6 separate regions of the Homo sapiens genome follow, and all the other regions are linked to region 5. Evidence: promoter capture Hi-C in 16 types of primary human blood cells and fetal thymus (Javierre and others, 2016). All regions are on one chromosome and are shown on one strand. Each heading gives the region's core, a stretch centred on a gene start or on the middle of the fragment in contact. The rest is flanking DNA. Distances are from core to core; before and after follow the strand shown. Region 1 has its middle 3.7 kb from the start of SMIM26. Region 2 has its middle 2.1 kb from the start of SEC23B. Region 3 overlaps CFAP61 (cilia and flagella associated protein 61). Region 4 holds the start of NAA20 (N-alpha-acetyltransferase 20, NatB catalytic subunit). Region 5 holds the start of NAPB (NSF attachment protein beta). Region 6 overlaps CRNKL1 (crooked neck pre-mRNA splicing factor 1).

Region 1 (2,700 bases), core at 31-2,530, 4.9 Mb before region 5:
CGCCTGCCTCAGCCTCCCAAAGTGCTGGGATTACAGGTGTGAGCCACGGTCCCCGGCCTACTATCTGCATTTTCAAGAGGTGTTCCTCTGTATTTGCATGAGTGAAAGATTGCTGTGAAATTTCACATAGAGCTTCCATAAGCTTGATTTCCTGAAACTAGTTAATGTAGATTTATATTTCTTTCATGTTGCTATTAGGCACAGCTTTAGTGGTCGCTTTAAGGTTAGTTTCAGCAAATCTCCATATTCACTTTGGGATTCACAGTAGCCCTTTGGGTACTACTGCGTACTGGGTAAGTATGATATAAATTTGATTGTAACTTCTGAATTAAACAGACTGGACCTATTCTTTAGGACCAGTGCACATACCCCTCATTCCTTCAGCAAGTGTGGATTACCCACCAACTGTGGCCAGTGCTATTCTAATGCTGGGAATGCAGTCAGGACGACATGATTGATGCTGAACCAGTTTCCTCAGTGGTCTCTTGGTTGCAGGCAACAAACACAAGTGAGCTTAAATCAAAAGTGGGTGTTTATAAAAAACGTGTATTGGTAGCTCAGAATTAAAGCAGAGAGTATGGGCCAGGAGCGGTGGCTCACGCCTGTACTCCCTGCACTTTGGGAGGCCGAGGGGCGGATCACAAGGTCAAGAGATCGAGACCGTCTTGGCCAGCATGGTGAAACCCTGTCTCTATTAAAAATACAAAAATTAGCTGGGCATGGCACCGCGCACCTGTAGTCCCAGCTACTTGGGAGGCTGAGGCAGGAGAATCGCTTGAATCTGGGAGGCGGAGGTTGCAGTGAGCTGAGATCGCACCACTGCACTCCAGCCTGTTGACAGCGAGATTCCATCTCAAAAAAAAAAAAAAAAAGCAGTATGTTGTCTTCAGAAGGCCTGACACTGGGACCAGAATGCAGGCAGCCACTTGTTGAGCCTGCCTGGGCTCTTGGCCTTGCTTTTCTTATTGCACACCAGCTGCTTTTCTCACCTTTCTGGAGTAATACAAATATCCCAAGAAGATACTACCTCCCATGTGCAGTGCCAAAGTCTGACCAGCCTCTCCTCAACCTGGTCTTTGGCTTCCACCCTTGCGAGAGACTCAGTTCAGTTTTTATCAGATCCCTGCCTATGGATTATAGAGTACTGCCTCAGTTATGAATAAAGTGGCATTTGTTTCTCATTTAGGTAGTGTTTTCCTGTTCATAGCTGTTGGGACCCTGTGAGTAGAGATGTGATGTGTGGTAGGACAGGAATTGGGCATTTCAGGGTTCCTCTACAGTACTATGACCTTCAGACCCTCATCTTGATTTCTCATTGGTGTCAGTTCCACCATTATGGGTGGCCTGAGCAGTGCTGTGGTGCAGTCAGCCTTAGTGACAAGGATTCCAAAATCACAAGTAACAGCTCCAGATGCTGGTAGCAGAGACTCAGCTTCCCAAGGGATATCAGGTCAAGCATGGATTCGTGCCAATTGGCTGTGTATTCCAGTGGACCATCTTGGTTGGCATCAAACTGATGAATGAGAAGCAGTGTACGACAGTAGATGGGGAAGGTGAGAAGCAAGTGAATCAGAAGTATGGGAGAAATGGGAACAGTAGCATGAACGTTTTGGAAGACATTTCCTAACATGAGGGCTTCCAGAGAAACAAAGGGCAAGGGCTGAGGGGCTGTGGCACTTGGCAGGTGAGAGTTGTTAATAGAGCACACCGAGGATAAACAGCTGAACTTCTACTCTCACCTGGCAGTCTACCCAGGATTCATACACTTGTGGGGCTTAAGGGGACATTTGGGTTAGCTTTCCTTGGGACTTGGCTGGGTTTCTTTGCTAGATCTAATTTATTCTCTTATTTCAGCCCAGCGTTCTCCTGAACTCAAGATCCATGTCCATCTAGCATTGCCACTTGGATATCTAGCCACCTCAGCTTTGTCCATAACTTAAATTGCTGTCATCACCCACAAGGCTGCTCTTCCTTCCGTTCTCTTTCTCAGAGAGTACTCAGTTCCTCAAATTAGGAACCTATCATTCTAGACTTCTCCCTCTTCTTGTTCCTTCTCCTTCCTCCAGCCACCAGGTCCCATCATTTCTACTGCAAATATTCCACTCCATTCCCACCTTCCCATTCCCTTTACCACTACCTTACTTAAATCCTCCATCCTCTTTGCTTATGTAGCCTCAACTTCCTACTCTCTTTGTCTCTACTTGGAGTCCCCTCCAATTGGTTTCTACAGTATTAGCCAGCATGACTTTTTTGAAATTAATTTTTATATTTTTAACAAAGCAACAAATGCATTAAAAAATTAAATAATGATCAAAAGTTTGTAACCAAAAAAACAGTTCCTGCTTTATCCCTCCTTGCTTTCAACTATTAGGTTTTTTTTTTTTTTTTTTTGGTATTTACGTCCACATTTCTAAATAATAAGCTTTTACTAATATCTTTAATTTATCAATCATGTATGGGATTTATTAATGAGGATTTGATCCTCCTTTCCAACTGACTAACCAATAAAACTATTGCATATTTTTGATGAATCAATAATTAATATTTACCCTGTTTTAACTATGCAAACATAGTTTGTTGATAAGCCAAGTAAGTGAGCTATAATTGTTTCTCATATAACTTTTCTTTCTGGAGTTAACTGCACTCTTTTTTTCATTTGCTTTGTTTTCTTGATGTTTCTCTCTCATTCTTTCCACATCC
Region 2 (2,700 bases), core at 47-2,546, 4.9 Mb before region 5:
TAGGTTTCTTTCTCCTCCTTACTGATTTTGGGTTTTGTTTCTGATTCGCCCACAGCTGGCGGATTTTTCCCCATGAATGGCGACACCAATTAGGAACTCGCGGGAAACCCCGTTGCTCCCTTTCCCCTGGCTGGCAGCGCGGAAGCCGCACGATGCCTGGAGTTCCTGTAAACCACGTGAACCAGCGGGACTTCGTCAGAGCTCTGGCAGCCTTTCTCAAAAAGTCCGGGAAGCTGAAAGTCCCCGAATGGGTGGACACCGTCAAGCTGGCCAAGCACAAAGAGCTTCCTCCCTACGTTGAGAACTGGTTCTACACACGAGCCGGTTCCACAGCGCGGCACCTGTACCTCCAGGGTGGCGCTGGGGTTGGCTCCATGACCAAGATCTATGGGGACGTCAGAGAAACGGCGTCATGCCCAGCCACTTCGGCCGAGGCTTCAAGAGTGTCCTCCGCCGGGTCCTCCAAGCCCTGGAGGGGCTGAAAATGGTGGAAAAGGACCAAGATGGGGGCCGCAAACTGACACCTCAGGGACAGAGAGATCTGGGCAGAATTGCCGGACAGGTGGCAGCTGCCAACAAGAAGCATTGGAACAAACCATGCTGGGTTAATACATTGCCTCATTCAGAAAAAAAAAAAAAAATTAGGAACTAGGTTTTACATTCTGAACATTTGGTGATCTCTTTAAGTGAATTAATAGTTTTTAGAGATCTATTCTCTTTTGGATAAGAGATGATGAAAAATCTGGTTTGTTAGTCTTTTTGTTTGTTTGCCTTTTTGTCTACTTATGAGTTCAAATCAGTTAAGACTTCCATGCCCATTGGGAAGGAGAACAGCTTTTTGTTATCTAGTCCACTGAATTTTTATGTTTCTGAATTTACTTTCGACCTGTGGCCAAAGTTGCAGAACCAAAGCTATATGCTATGTGTCTATGTGTCTTCCCGGCTGTAATCAACAAAGGCCTTCCCCTCTTGTTGTGGGAGTAAAAAAATCTTACTACCTTTGTAAAGTTTTAATAAGTTATATTATTTCATGTCTTAAAGGAGCTCTGTTATAATTCACTTATGGAAACAAACACATGTAAATCAATTATTTCTAAAATTCCAGAAAATAAGTAAATTAAACTTATGCATGCAAAATTTCTTAAAAATGCTGAAACCATCCTGACAGGGTTAACAAGATTACAAGCCAGCCTTTAGGCAGGTTAGTTAGGCACTGACCAGGGTGCATTGGTGCCCTTCAATTCACTTCCCTGCAGCTGCTAACTAACCAAAAGCCTTGCAGCACACTGATCACCTACTCCCTGATTGCTCCTATCCACAGAATCTCTGACACTAGCTCTTTGTACCCAGGAATTGCTTAAGGTATTTTTCAGATCCTGAATTCCCACAAAACAGCTGATGCCAAACTGTCTAGGGATCCCCACCAGGAAGGGCACAGTGGCTCACGCCTGTAATCTTAGCACTTTGGGAGGCCAAGGTGAGAGGATCGCCTGAAGCCCGGAGTTTGAGACTAGCCTGGGCAACAAAGTGAGACCCTGCTTTACAAAAAAAAAATTTTTTTAAATAAATAAATAAAGACCTCCACCAAGAAACAACACTGGAATGAAGTTTCTTCATCTCCCTGTCCCATGACTTCACCTCTCACTTCCTGACCAATCAGAAATCCCCACACTTTAGCCCATTGCCCCTCCAGACTTCTTAAAAATGCCATCTCTAATCTCTTGGGGAGGTGGATTTGAGGATTGCTCTTGTCTCCTCATTTGGCTGCCACTTGATTATGGAACTCTTTATCTGCTGCAACTCCTATTCTTTCTGTTACCGCACAATGGACAATCGAACCTGATGGTCCTATAACAATCTTTCTTACAGAAATTGCTAGTACAGAAAGAATCCAGGTTCAAATAATCAAGGCAAATCTTTGGCGAATAATATTAAGTTTTGGTTAAAAAAAATCCCAGCTATGTCTTTTCTCAGTGTTAAGTATTATACATGTGTACATTTTGAGTTTGTTTCCTTACCGAGAATAATTAATCTGAACTTCCTAAATTTATAAAAGTTTACTATTGATAAGCTAATATTAACATTACATTGTTTAAGATCCTGAAAAATGTGAATTTGTTCAACAAAACTGAATCATTCTCACATTTAACAGTAATTGTTTCTTTGTGCCTTAAACTATTAATAATTTCTATGATCTGTAGATAACTTAAAACTTAGTATTAAATTGAGCTAATTAATGGATACTTCTTGGATGCCTAGATATGTTCTTGCATAATTTTATGTTTACATCGTTTTGCTTATTTTTATATGCTACAGAGACTACAACTCTGAGTCACAGTAATGATGTGTTCATGTTTGCCACTTGTCAGCGTGTGTAAAAATGGTTGTGGTGGCTTTATACAGTTGTGTTCTATCGCGCCTTTTGCAGCAACATGGATGCATCTGGAGGCCATGATCCTAAAAGAATTAACGCAGAAGCAGAAAACCAAATACATGTTCTCACTTGAAAGTGGGAGCTAAGCATTGGGCACACATGGACACAAAGGTGACATTAATAGACGCTGGGGACTACTAGAGTGGGGAGGGAGGCAGGGAGGGGCTGAAAAACTTGGGTACTATGCTCAGTATCTGGGTGACCAGCTCATTCGAATTCGAAACCTCATAGCCAGGTAACAAATACGCAGTGTACCCCCTAAATCT
Region 3 (2,700 bases), core at 53-2,552, 3.4 Mb before region 5:
TAGTAGAATATCTTCAATAGTGGAGAGAAAAATAACATCAATTTAGAATTGTGACATTGTTTCACCCAGTGAAACAATTCCTAGGGGACCTGGGAGAAAATAAATGCATTTTCTGACAAACAAAAACCTAAGTCATTTGCCAATAAACTCTGAATGGAGGAAATTCCTCAGAATATGTTTTTGGAGGAACAGAGAATACCTCAGCTGGAAAGCTCAAAACACAAGAAGGAATGTCAACAAAAATATGGAAAATATATAGGTAAATCTAAGAAAAAGTATGACTTGCATAAAACAATAATATTGATAATGACTGATTTGTGAGGTATAAACCATATGTTAAAACTAAGATTCAGGACAAAAACATTATATAAATTGGGAGGAGCATGATTAGAATGAAAGAATCCTTCAGGTTTTATTTAAGATGGAGGGTGTGGTAAGTGGTGTGCAAACAGGCTCCCCTGGCTCCAATGAGCCACACATCCTGTCACTTACGCCTTTGTGTAGTCTGTTCTCACAAAGAATCATGGCTCGCCTTATGCAGCCAATGGAAAGCAGCAGAAGTGAGACTCTATTTGACTTCAAGTCTAAGTCATAAGAAGTCTTGCAACTTCCACTGGGTCTCCGGAAGTGCTCCTTCTCAGAACCCAGTGCCACACTGATGAAAGCTCCAGTCACATGTTTCCCTGTGGGTGCTTCATTTGACAGCCTCTGCTGAGCTCCCCGCTAGCAACTGCCACCAGCTGCCAACCATGCAAGTAAGCCGTCTTAGACACTGAGTCTTCAGATGGCTTTAGCCACTGCTGCCATTTGATAGCCTGAGATACCGTGCAAAAACTGCTTAGTTCAACCCAGGCAGCCCACAGAACCATGAGAGATAATAATTGCTACTTAAAGCCACTGAGGTTTGGGGTGGTTTATTACACATCAGTTGATAACTGGAACAGATAATAAAGACTGTTAGGAATATATATTAACATGGTTAAGATCATCATTAAAAGAACAGGTGTAGAGATGATAACTTCTGATCTATAGAGGGAAAAATGGAATGAGAAATTTAAAATGAACCCTGAATCTAAAAGAGGACAAGACAGGAGGAGGAAAAAAGAAACAAAAAGCATAGAATGTATTAAAATTACAGAATAAGAAAATAAATTTTACTATATCAGCAATCATAATAAATGCATCTGGACAAAAATCTTCCATTAAAAGATTAAGAATGGCAGATTGGCTCAAAACAAAACAGTCATATTCTATTTGTGAGACATACCTCATATATAAAGTCACAGAAATATTTAAAGTCAAAGTATCAGGAAAAAAGATATGCCACCCAAAATCTCACCCAAAATAAGGGCTAGTATTGCTATATCAACAGCAGACAGTGTATAGTTCAGGACAAAAAGCTCCCTACAGATAAAGAGGGTCACTATATAATGATAAAACTGTTGTTGGGAGAGCTATGACAGCTTTAAACTTATATGCTTCTAACAACACAGTTCTAAAATAGATAAAAGTGAAAATCACAGGTAGAGCACTGGAGACTCTCCCGCCTCCCTGTGTTCCCCATGCCTTTTTGTGCCATTCTCCCTGCTGTAGTCCCCATGTTTTCTATCTTTGTTGAGCCTGTGATTCCCCTGACAGAATGTAATGGAAGTGGGGCTGTCCTGGTCCCAGGCCCAAGCGTTAAGATGGCCTGGCAGCAGGGCTGGCCCAGGAGAGGCACGCAGGGTATCCTGGGTACTCACTCCCAGCTAGGGCCCCTGCATGAACCTGAGAGTGAACACCTCCTTCCATTTTTGAACCCTGGGTCCCTCTGGCCTCACCCTAGTTCGAGCCTTTGCTGGGAGCTTTCAGTTTTGTGATCTTGGGAGCCTTGCACTACCATGTAAAAAGTCTGGCTACTCTACTGGACATACCACCCAGAGAGGCCATATCGTAAGAGAGAAGTGTGTGCCTACATGGAGGAGAATTGAGGAGCCCAGCCTCCAGCAAGAAGGAAGGCCCCATGTCACTCTTCCAGGCACACCCCAGCCCCTTTGGGCCACCCTCACTGAGGCACAAGACACATGAGGGAAAAAAACCGTCTTGGAGGTTCTTGCCCCAACAGATACCCCTACTGTACCCTGTCTGAATCTCTCACCCATAGAATCATGAGCAAATAAAACAGAGTAGCCACTAAATTTGGGATAATCTGTTATGCAGAAATAGTTGAACAAAATAGCAGGTCTTAGAGGGAACTTATAACCTTAAATGCTTATAACAGAAGAGAAGAAAGGCCTGAAATAAAGTTCAGAGTTTACCTCTAAGAGCAAGAACAGTCGAATCAACTCAAGGAAAACAGAAAATAAAGGACAAGAGCGCATATTAATGAAACAGGAAACAAGCATCTGGTAGAGGATAAACAAAGCCAAAAGTTTGTTCTTTAAAAAGCCTAAAGAAAAAAAAAATCTGACAAGATTAATCAGGAAAAAAAGAAAAACTTTCAAAGTAATGTGAAAAGGACATAATCACAAATGTTGCTGAGGTTAAGCAGGTAATAAAAGGGCATTATAGATCCACAATCCTTTAACTAAATCCCTCGTGACTAGTTGTGTTTCAGAAAGCAGAATTTAAAAAATTAGTTTCTTCCATTGATGAAATATTATTGAATTCCACCCACAAGGGCTGGAGAGATTTTCCATAATTACACACGTTAGGATATCT
Region 4 (2,700 bases), core at 189-2,688, 3.4 Mb before region 5:
GTTATACAGTGCCCAGGAGAGACAGTGATTACAGCTCTGTGGATATTGACCAGTTTAACACTCATGTGTAAATACATTTCAGCATTCCTGCTTGCTTTATGTATTTTATCTCTCTTTATCTTATCTTTTTGAGACAGGGTCTTGGTGTGTCACCCAGGCTGGAGTGCAGTGGTGCAATCATGTCTCAGAGCAACCTCTACCTCCCGGGCTCAAATGATCCTCCCACCTCAGCCTCCCAAGTAGCTGGGATTACAGGTGTGAGCCACTGTGTCTGGTCTGAATAAAGGAATTTTTAACTTTTAATTTTAACTACTTTAAATTTAAAAACTGATGTTTGGTTCAGCGATTTGAAAACAGTATATTTGGAACCGCTTGGATATGAGAATCTGCTTTTTAACCATACATTGATGAAATCTAAATAGAGAACAAGCATTTCCGATGACAGCTGCTCTCTCAGATTGAAATGCACTGCAAATGTAAAATACACACCGGATTTCAAAGTCTTTGCAAAAAAGAATGTAACATATCACATTCCTTTTTTTATTGATTGATTACATGTTGAGTATTGATTGGTTACATGTTGAAATGATATTTCGGGTATAATAAAGTGGGGTCAGGGAAAAATATTTTTCCCAAATAGGAAAAATAAATGGGTAAAATAAAGCGTACTATCAAAATCAATTTTACATTTCGTTTTGCTTTTATTTATTTATTATTTATTTTTGAGACCAAGTCTAGCTCTGTCGCCCAGGCTGGAGTGCAGTGGCGAGATCTCGGCTCACTGCAACCTCCGCCTCCTGGGTTCAAGCGATTCTCCTGCCTCAGCCTCCAAGTAGCTGGGATTAGAGGCGCGTGCCACCACGCCCAGCTAATTTTTATTTCTTTCCTTTTTTTTTTTTTTTTAGTAGAGAGGGGGTTTCGCCATGTTGGCCAGGTTGGTCTCGAACTGCTGAACTCAAGTGATCTGCCCGCCTTGGCCTCCCAGTGTTGGGATTACAGGCGTGAGCCACCGCGCCCGGCCTTCTTTTTGTTTTTAAACGTGGTATTGACATTTTAAGATGACATCTGCAACTCGCAACACTGGGACAAGGGATTCTGGGTCATAAATTCTCCCATTCCTCATTTACTCTGCAGCACCGGGTGGCTGCGAACTCCGCTCTTCTGCTTGGGTTTCCGCATCACCAGCAGCTTCTTTCCTTCCCAGGTGTCGCCGCCTGCTTTCTGCAGCCGCTGCCTGGGAGGGGTTCCGAGGTTCTGGGCAGCCACAGCCCCGGAGGCCTTACAGGAGCGACCTGGCAATTCCCGCCGCCGGCCGCCAGAGGAAGCTGCTTTGCTGCTGTCGTTGCCCAGCAACTCGTAGCCCGGAAGCAGTACCCCGTCTCGCTCGGTTCCGCGGCGGCCACGCTCCGGGAGACTTCCGGCAGGGCGGGCGCGGGGTCTTGGCGAACGGTCTTCGGAAGCGGCGGCGGCGCGATGACCACGCTACGGGCCTTTACCTGCGACGACCTGTTCCGCTTCAACAACATGTGAGTGACACGCGCCTAGGGCCAGCCGCTCTTGGCCGGGCCTCGCTTCCCGGCCCCGCCAGCTCCGGCCCCAGCCGCGCCTTCCCGGCCGGACCCCAAGCCCGGACGGGGACCCGCGAGAACCACCCCCCGCCGGCCAACGTGGGCGCCTCCCTGGGGCCACAGGGTCCAGGGAGAGGTGGGCCTGGAGTCGACGCACGCCGGCCTTGGCGACCTTGGCCGAGGTGCTCAAACTTTGTCTCTGGACCCTGCGAGCTGGCAGGTTCTGGGGCAGCGCTCGGGCCTCCGCTCGTGGTCGCTGTCAGGAGGCGCTGGGGTGATGGGGCGAGCTGGAGACGCGGCCTGGAGCCCACGACCTGGGCTTCTCGCCCTGCCCTACTGCTTGCTGGTTCGTGGCCGGGCCGCGCCTCTTCTGGGCAGAGGGCACCGCCGACGGCCAGGCCGCAGAGGGGGCTTGCGAGGATCGGAAGCTGGTCAGCAGCTGTTGGGATGTGTACATCGTGAAGCCCACCTGGTGGCCGTGGTTAAATTGTATCCAAATGAAATGACACTGATCACTGCGTCCCCTGCAGCAGATGCTGTCTCAGTCATGGTTAGTGTTTGCAAGTTTAGTTACTGTAGCTGCGCACCCCGGTGTACACACCTTTCCTCTGTGAGGAGTCACGGCAGATCTTAGGGGAGGCTCGCTGTGCCCAGAGCCCTGGATGCAGTTTCTTTGGATTCGAGTTAAGGCCAGACCTCTGATTTGCAGGTACCAATTTTTTTTTTTTAAGAAAACATTTTATTATGAAGATTCCCACACATTTAGAAAAGTTGGAGGAATTTCACCATGTGCTTTTATAGACACTTTTCCTGGATTCTGCAGTTAACATTTTGCTACGCTGGTATCTCTCCTTCCTTCCCATCTATCAGTCCTGGATCCACTTTAAAAAAACAACAGGGCGGTATGTGAAAACTAAGGACAAAGTGGTTCCGATTCAAGTGTCAGGAAGATGGAAAGAACTATGGGATAAGATGGCTGGGAACATTTCAAAGAGGGGGTGAGCCTTGAAGATGGATAACACATTGGTAAGTGAGGAAGACGGAAGTTCCGGAGAAGGAGCGGGGCATGAAAATGGGGAAACTTGAAGTGCGGTCAGACAACTGGGATCAGTGCGAATCTAGTGGCTGGTTT
Region 5 (2,700 bases), core at 115-2,614:
GCCTTTCTCATCCTAAACAGCTGAATCATTCACATATTCAACAGCCCAGAATTCTTCCGGGCTGTCAGTGCGGGCTCTGCTTTTTGAGAGGTTGGAATTTAAAATCCTCCTTAGGAGAGCACGGAAGAATTACAGGAAATTAAAGGGATTCCCAAAGGACGCCTGACTTAAACAGCAGCAGCGTTACCGTTAATCAAACAGGAGGCTCTGGCTATCAATCAATCTCCGGAGAAGGAAAAATACTATGCTGAGAAAATATATTCGTTCATTAGTCAAGTATTTACTAAAGGTGTACTCGGCGCAAGGCCCCTGGAGAGAGGCCAACAAGCACACCAGCTCTGGATCCCTCGCCGGACCGCCCCCTCCCCGGCGGGGCCCACCTGCAGGCGGGACGCCCCCAGGTGCGCGTTCCAGGCGCCGGGGGCGGCCCCCGCACCCACCCCTCCGGCTCCACCCCGGCGCGCCTCACCCGGACCGGTCTCAGGAGCGATACGGGCTTCAGCGTGGCGAAATGCACCAATACGACTCGCTACGCACTGAGAAGGGGGCCCCACGCGCGCCCCGAGCTACCGCGCCCGCGGGCCTCAGGGAGCCGCTGACCTTCTAGGTCGTGGGACCCCCGCACCAACCCGGGCCAGGGCGAGGGGGGCGATCTGGGGTCTCCAGAGGGCGCGTGAGGCTGACAGCCCCCCCCCCAGAGTGTTCTAGGGGCTTCGTGGGGCGCTTGGGGAGCTCTGGGGGTCCTAGGGGTTCTCTGAAAGGCGCGTGGGGGCTGAGGGTCCCTGTGAGACTCTGGGGATTCTAAGGGGGCGTGTTAGGGGATCCGGAGAGCGTGTGGGGGCTGAGGAACCCTGGGGAGTTCTGCCGGCCCTAGGGGGTCTCTAAAGTGCGCGTGGGGGCTGAGAGCCCCTGGGAGGATGCGGGGTTTCCAGGGACCCTGGGGGGGCCTGTGGGGTCTCTGGAGGGCGCGTGCGGACTGAGGGCCCCTGGGCGTCCTGGGGGCTCCAGGGGGCGCTGGGGGACCCTACAGGATTTCTGGAGGGCGCCTGCAGGCTGAGGGCCCCTAGACGTGGTCTGAGGGCCCCAGAGGTTGCGTGGGGGACTCGGGGGGTCAGCCTGAAAGGAAGGGGGCCAAGTACGGAGACCCCCCCCCCCCAGGGCACGCACGGTCTGGCGCTCACCCAAACAGCCCTCGGAGGAAGGAGTGGGAGGCCTTGACTCGCTTCTCGGCCTCCGCCATCAGCTGTACTGCCTCACGCTCCTTCCCCGCGTTGTCCATGTCGCCCGCCGCGGCCGCCACAGCCCCCTCAGCCGGCTCGCTGTGCGCCCAGGCGCCTTAACCCTCCCTCTGGCGGCCGCAGGGACGCAGGCGCAGGCGCGACGCGCGAGGCCTTTCGGGAGCTGTAGTCCGGGTCCTGTCATGGCGGCGGGGATTCGCGAGCCGCCTACTACAGTTCCCAGGAGGCCCCGGGGCGGGGTGTGTGTGAGCCGAGCTTGCGCACCGCTAGCTCCCAGGACGTCGGCGCAGGGGGCGTGACCCCCCCAAAGGGGTCCTGGGCCAAGGTGAACTTTAATTTTGTATGTATGCAGAAATGGAAAAATGATCCGTGGCCTCTAGTAAAGATCACCTCCTCAGTAAGACTCGCATGGCAATGGGATGGATGAAGGAACAGGGGATAACAGATTGGATGGAACCCACACCCTTCATGCAAGTTCTGCAAAAGAGAATCTGGTGTAGCCACCAAAGCATCACATGCTTGATACCGCCCACCAAAAAACGAGCAACAGCTGGCAATAAGAGCCATTTTTATCTCCAAGAGCAAGACGTCCCCAATATAAGTTCAGTTATTTTTAAATCTCCCCAAACTGTAACTTTCTGTTGGTCCTCTCTTCCTTGGTTATAAATGAGTTGCATATATGCAATATATGCATAATCCACTCTTTTGTTGACTGAATTATATTCAATGGATGTGAACCATTGAACTCTTATCCTTTACATAATACTGGCCATAGTGGATGGATCTCCAGGGACAAAATGTTTGCCTGCCAGGAAGACTTCTAATCTCCTAGGAGAAGTATCCATAGATAGATGGGATCCTGTGCCAGAGACTTTCAGGCCTGTCCCAGAGGGAGTTATTTTTGAAGACAATGTCTAGACCATTCAAGCTTGGCAGTGCTAAGGCAGAGATGCTGAAACTAATAAGAAAATCACTGCCAAGTGAGATTTATGACAGTTTCAAACTGTTAATAAATACACTCTGGGCACTGGCATGCAAAATTTTAGAAAATGAAGACTGTCTGTAGAGGGCAAGGCAAGAGGGGCCAAACTCCTAGAAAGAAAGTTGACTAAAGCACATGTCACAGAGTTCATACATTTCAGGACTCCGTAGAGATAGAAAGAAATCTCAGCTCTTCGTGCAGTTTATTTACGATTACTACATGCATTATTCTAACTTTGAAAAGCTGAGCTGTGTGTTTTTGGAGAGAGAAGGAGGCGGGAAATTGGAGGTGACCGTAAATGCAGGGGAGACCAGAGAAAAACTGTAAAAAGTGAACATAAGCATTTGGAAAGCAGAGCAGTCTATGGGGGCTTAATGGAGTGAGGCTAAGTCAAAAGCTCCTAAGTAAATCAGTGTGTTGATTAAATCAGTTGTTCCCTAACGTGGTTCGATGCAGAAGCTCTAATGGATATTTAAGAAA
Region 6 (2,700 bases), core at 31-2,530, 3.4 Mb before region 5:
ACATTCCAAACATTCCAAAGTCCTCTGAGACTCACGTTTCTCTTGAAAAGCAAGGAAGTCATTAAAAAAAAAAAAAAAACAAAAACCCAAACACTTAAAATACAGAAATATATCATTTTCTTCTGGACTGCTGATTCAAGCAAAATGAAAGATCATCTACAAAGCAAGGATACCTTGACATGCTGCGTCCGTTGAAGCAACCGCCGGTAAAGGTTTCGTGTTCTTTCTGTTTCTTCCTGCTCAATTTCAAAATCAATATATGATTTCCAAAGCACCTAAGGAAGAAAAGTAAATGGGTCAGTCTTGACATTTACAAAGCAGCATGCCCCCATCCAAAGCACAGCTGAAGTATCACTCTAACCTACATCTAGGAACATAGGATTTTTACTGAACAACTAAAGAACACATGTGGATAAGATAAATAACATTGGTATCTATAAGCTGGCCAAAACTTGGCTAGAATTCCAGATTACAGAAAAAGGGCCTTGGATTCAGTCTTAGAGATTCTCTTTGGAAGTTTTTCAAATGCTTGACTTATCAAGAGCTGAGAAACTTGCCAAGCATCTCCCAGGTACTCCATATTCTAGCCACACGCAATTGAGCGTCCAGAGAGAAAACAGGCCCAGGTTAGCCAGTATGCATGTTCTTACCTCTACTGTACATTCCTTGTTATTATGAGAGTTCAGTGCAACAAGCATTCACTGAACAGGTGCGCACTGGCTCGGTGCAGCCTGGCAGGGAATAAGGATGAATAAACCGTGGCATGGACACCTGAAAGCTGGCAGTCTGGTGGAGGAGCCGAGGACAACTGATGAACTCAGTGATACCCAAAGCCCTGCCTTAATTAATGCAATCAGGGGGCCAAACCATTAAATGCAGGGTCATGTTAGTGCATGAGATTAACAAAACGGCTGGGTGAGTTCTACGACTCATGTGAGATTCAAATCTTTCCTAGCTGTGGTTTGGTGCTACCTTGTGGGTCAAGCTTAACTACTGAAGGCAGGCGAGGACTTTCAGGACAGTGACAACAGAAGTTGCAAGGACATCCTGGTTTAGAGAATACAGGGATGTGCAGTTCCTACCTCCATCCCCCTCGTTCTCCGGGTGGGCCAGCCTGCTGGCTTCTTCCTTGCCTGGCCTCTTCCCCAGCCCCTTTAGGCTTTCCTGCTGCAGAAGGGGCGTCACCCACCCCCATGATATCCCAGTTCATCCTGGGCATCATCCTGGATGTCTACTGCTCTGGTATCTAATGAGAGGGCTACTTCCCCTGTCCCCCACAGCCACCTTTCCACGTACAAGCCTAATCTGAGTAGAAGAGACTAAGTTAGTTAGATCATCGTTATACTCTAAAATACACCCACATTTAGATGGTCATCTAAAGTAAGACTAAACACGTATCTCAAACAAAATTATATTTGACTTGAGATGCTCACCTCTGGCATGTCTAAACGTGGCTGACTGATGGCTAATTCATAGATTGCCCGTGCTCTGTCAATATCACCAAGGATTGTCTCTAATTCAGCGAATTTAATCCATGAGGTACAATTTTCAGGTCCAAATTCCAGGAACTTTTCATAAAGCTTCCGGCATCTGTCAAATTCTCGAAGCTGTAGCTCCAATTCTATGTAAACTTTAAATAATTTGTTCTTTGGACATTTGCCTATGGAAGTTCCCTGGAAAATAAAATAACCAGACCACTGTGATACTGTAGTGGATTTAATCTGTGCAGTTATTGCACTGCCCTAGAGGCTGTTCTCTGCTGAGGAAGAATCTTGCAAAGTCAACATGGCCTACCATTCTTTCCCTCTGTGGTATCACAATGTTTACTGGTTCTTGACAAAAGGCTGAAGGAAACTCCTCTAATTCACTCAGCAAGAGGCAGTGTTCCAGAATTGTTTGGGCAACTAAATAAAATAAGATTTGAAAGTTTCTCAGGATCTCCTAGGGAATAGGGATGTCAAATGCATAAAACCTCCTATAAATAAAAAGGACAAGGCATGGTGGCTCATGCCTGTAATCCCAGCATTCTGAGAGGCCAACATGGGAGGATCATTTCCGCCCAGGAGGCAGAGGTTGCAGTGAGCCAAGATCGCGCTACTGCATTCCAGCTTGGGGAACAGAGCGAGACCCTGTCTCAAAAAAAAACCAAACAAACAAAAAAAAAAAAAAGAAAAAAAAAGTGGAACAATTAAAAGTGCATTTAACACACCAAAAAGTTTGCACAGGATCAGATTACTAATTCCAGTCTGTGGAAAGATTTAGTAACTGGTAGCTATAGAAGTTTCCAATATTGAAACAGAATGTTAATTTGCCCCAGGTAATAAGAATAATTTACGCATTATTAGTCAGTGTTTTTACAGAGGACGCATGTTTTCTAACATGTCCCAGGCTATAAAGGTATAATACTTCTGTCACTCTTTAAAGTAGGAACTGTACAACTTCCAAGCACCAAGATTTTAATTTCTTTCTCATAGAACTTGATGAGACATCTTGATCCTTTCTTTACTTACCAATGCTCTTCTGGCTAATGACAGATTCTTCTGTCGTATTTCAAACTGTGCATACAGTATCCACATTTTGGCAAATGTGAACTAGAAAACAAAAGCACAAAAATATCTAGCTTAAAAGCCTCATCCAAATTAAATTGAATTAAAATTAATTTAAATTAACCAAAGCCATTGGTAATTCGATTTCTCTAAA

Evidence for each region. The method cuts DNA at HindIII sites, captures the fragments that hold promoters and counts their contacts. A CHiCAGO score of 5 or more calls a contact.
Region 1: a fragment that was not itself captured here is called in contact with the fragment with the promoter of NAPB in region 5 in 1 of 17 cell types (non-activated CD4 T cells); the score reaches 10.3 in non-activated CD4 T cells.
Region 2: a fragment that was not itself captured here is called in contact with the fragment with the promoter of NAPB in region 5 in 1 of 17 cell types (naive CD4 T cells); the score reaches 6.4 in naive CD4 T cells.
Region 3: a fragment that was not itself captured here is called in contact with the fragment with the promoter of NAPB in region 5 in 1 of 17 cell types (total CD4 T cells); the score reaches 6.7 in total CD4 T cells.
Region 4: the fragment with the promoter of NAA20 here is called in contact with the fragment with the promoter of NAPB in region 5 in 1 of 17 cell types (non-activated CD4 T cells); the score reaches 5.0 in non-activated CD4 T cells.
Region 6: a contact is called between a fragment that was not itself captured here and the fragment with the promoter of NAPB in region 5, in 1 of 17 cell types (non-activated CD4 T cells). The highest score is 5.3, in non-activated CD4 T cells.

The regions. Positions count from the first base shown.
Region 1 is chr20:18,569,816-18,572,515 of GRCh38, forward strand. No RefSeq gene overlaps it. Among named protein-coding and RNA genes, the nearest start is that of SMIM26, 3.7 kb to the left of the region's middle. The HindIII fragment of the contact is 2,280 bases long and covers 141-2,420 here.
Region 2 is chr20:18,504,481-18,507,180 of GRCh38, forward strand. It overlaps the pseudogene RPS19P1. Among named protein-coding and RNA genes, the nearest start is that of SEC23B, 2.1 kb to the right of the region's middle. The HindIII fragment of the contact is 2,905 bases long and covers 1-2,700 here.
Region 3 is chr20:20,060,160-20,062,859 of GRCh38, forward strand. All of the region lies in intron 2 of CFAP61 (cilia and flagella associated protein 61), which reads left to right. Among named protein-coding and RNA genes, the nearest start is that of CFAP61, 9.0 kb to the left of the region's middle. The HindIII fragment of the contact is 6,753 bases long and covers 1-2,700 here.
Region 4 is chr20:20,015,924-20,018,623 of GRCh38, forward strand. NAA20 (N-alpha-acetyltransferase 20, NatB catalytic subunit) reads left to right here and starts at 1,439. Exons shown (of 6, transcript NM_016100.5): 1 at 1,439-1,526. The coding sequence starts at 1,474. RefSeq lists enhancers at 946-1,125, 1,740-2,240 and silencers at 1,446-1,515, 1,566-1,685. The HindIII fragment of the contact is 8,583 bases long and covers 1-2,700 here.
Region 5 is chr20:23,420,124-23,422,823 of GRCh38, forward strand. It overlaps NAPB (NSF attachment protein beta), which reads right to left and starts at 1,365. Exons shown (of 11, transcript NM_022080.3): 1 at 1,182-1,365. The coding sequence starts at 1,279. RefSeq lists silencers at 354-583, 1,214-1,303 and an enhancer at 1,554-1,743. The HindIII fragment of the contact is 2,788 bases long and covers 1-2,164 here.
Region 6 is chr20:20,038,176-20,040,875 of GRCh38, forward strand. It overlaps CRNKL1 (crooked neck pre-mRNA splicing factor 1), which reads right to left. Exons shown (of 14, transcript NM_001278628.2): 10 at 2,511-2,591; 11 at 1,434-1,673; 12 at 174-275. Among named protein-coding and RNA genes, the nearest start is that of CRNKL1, 13 kb to the right of the region's middle. The HindIII fragment of the contact is 595 bases long and covers 984-1,578 here.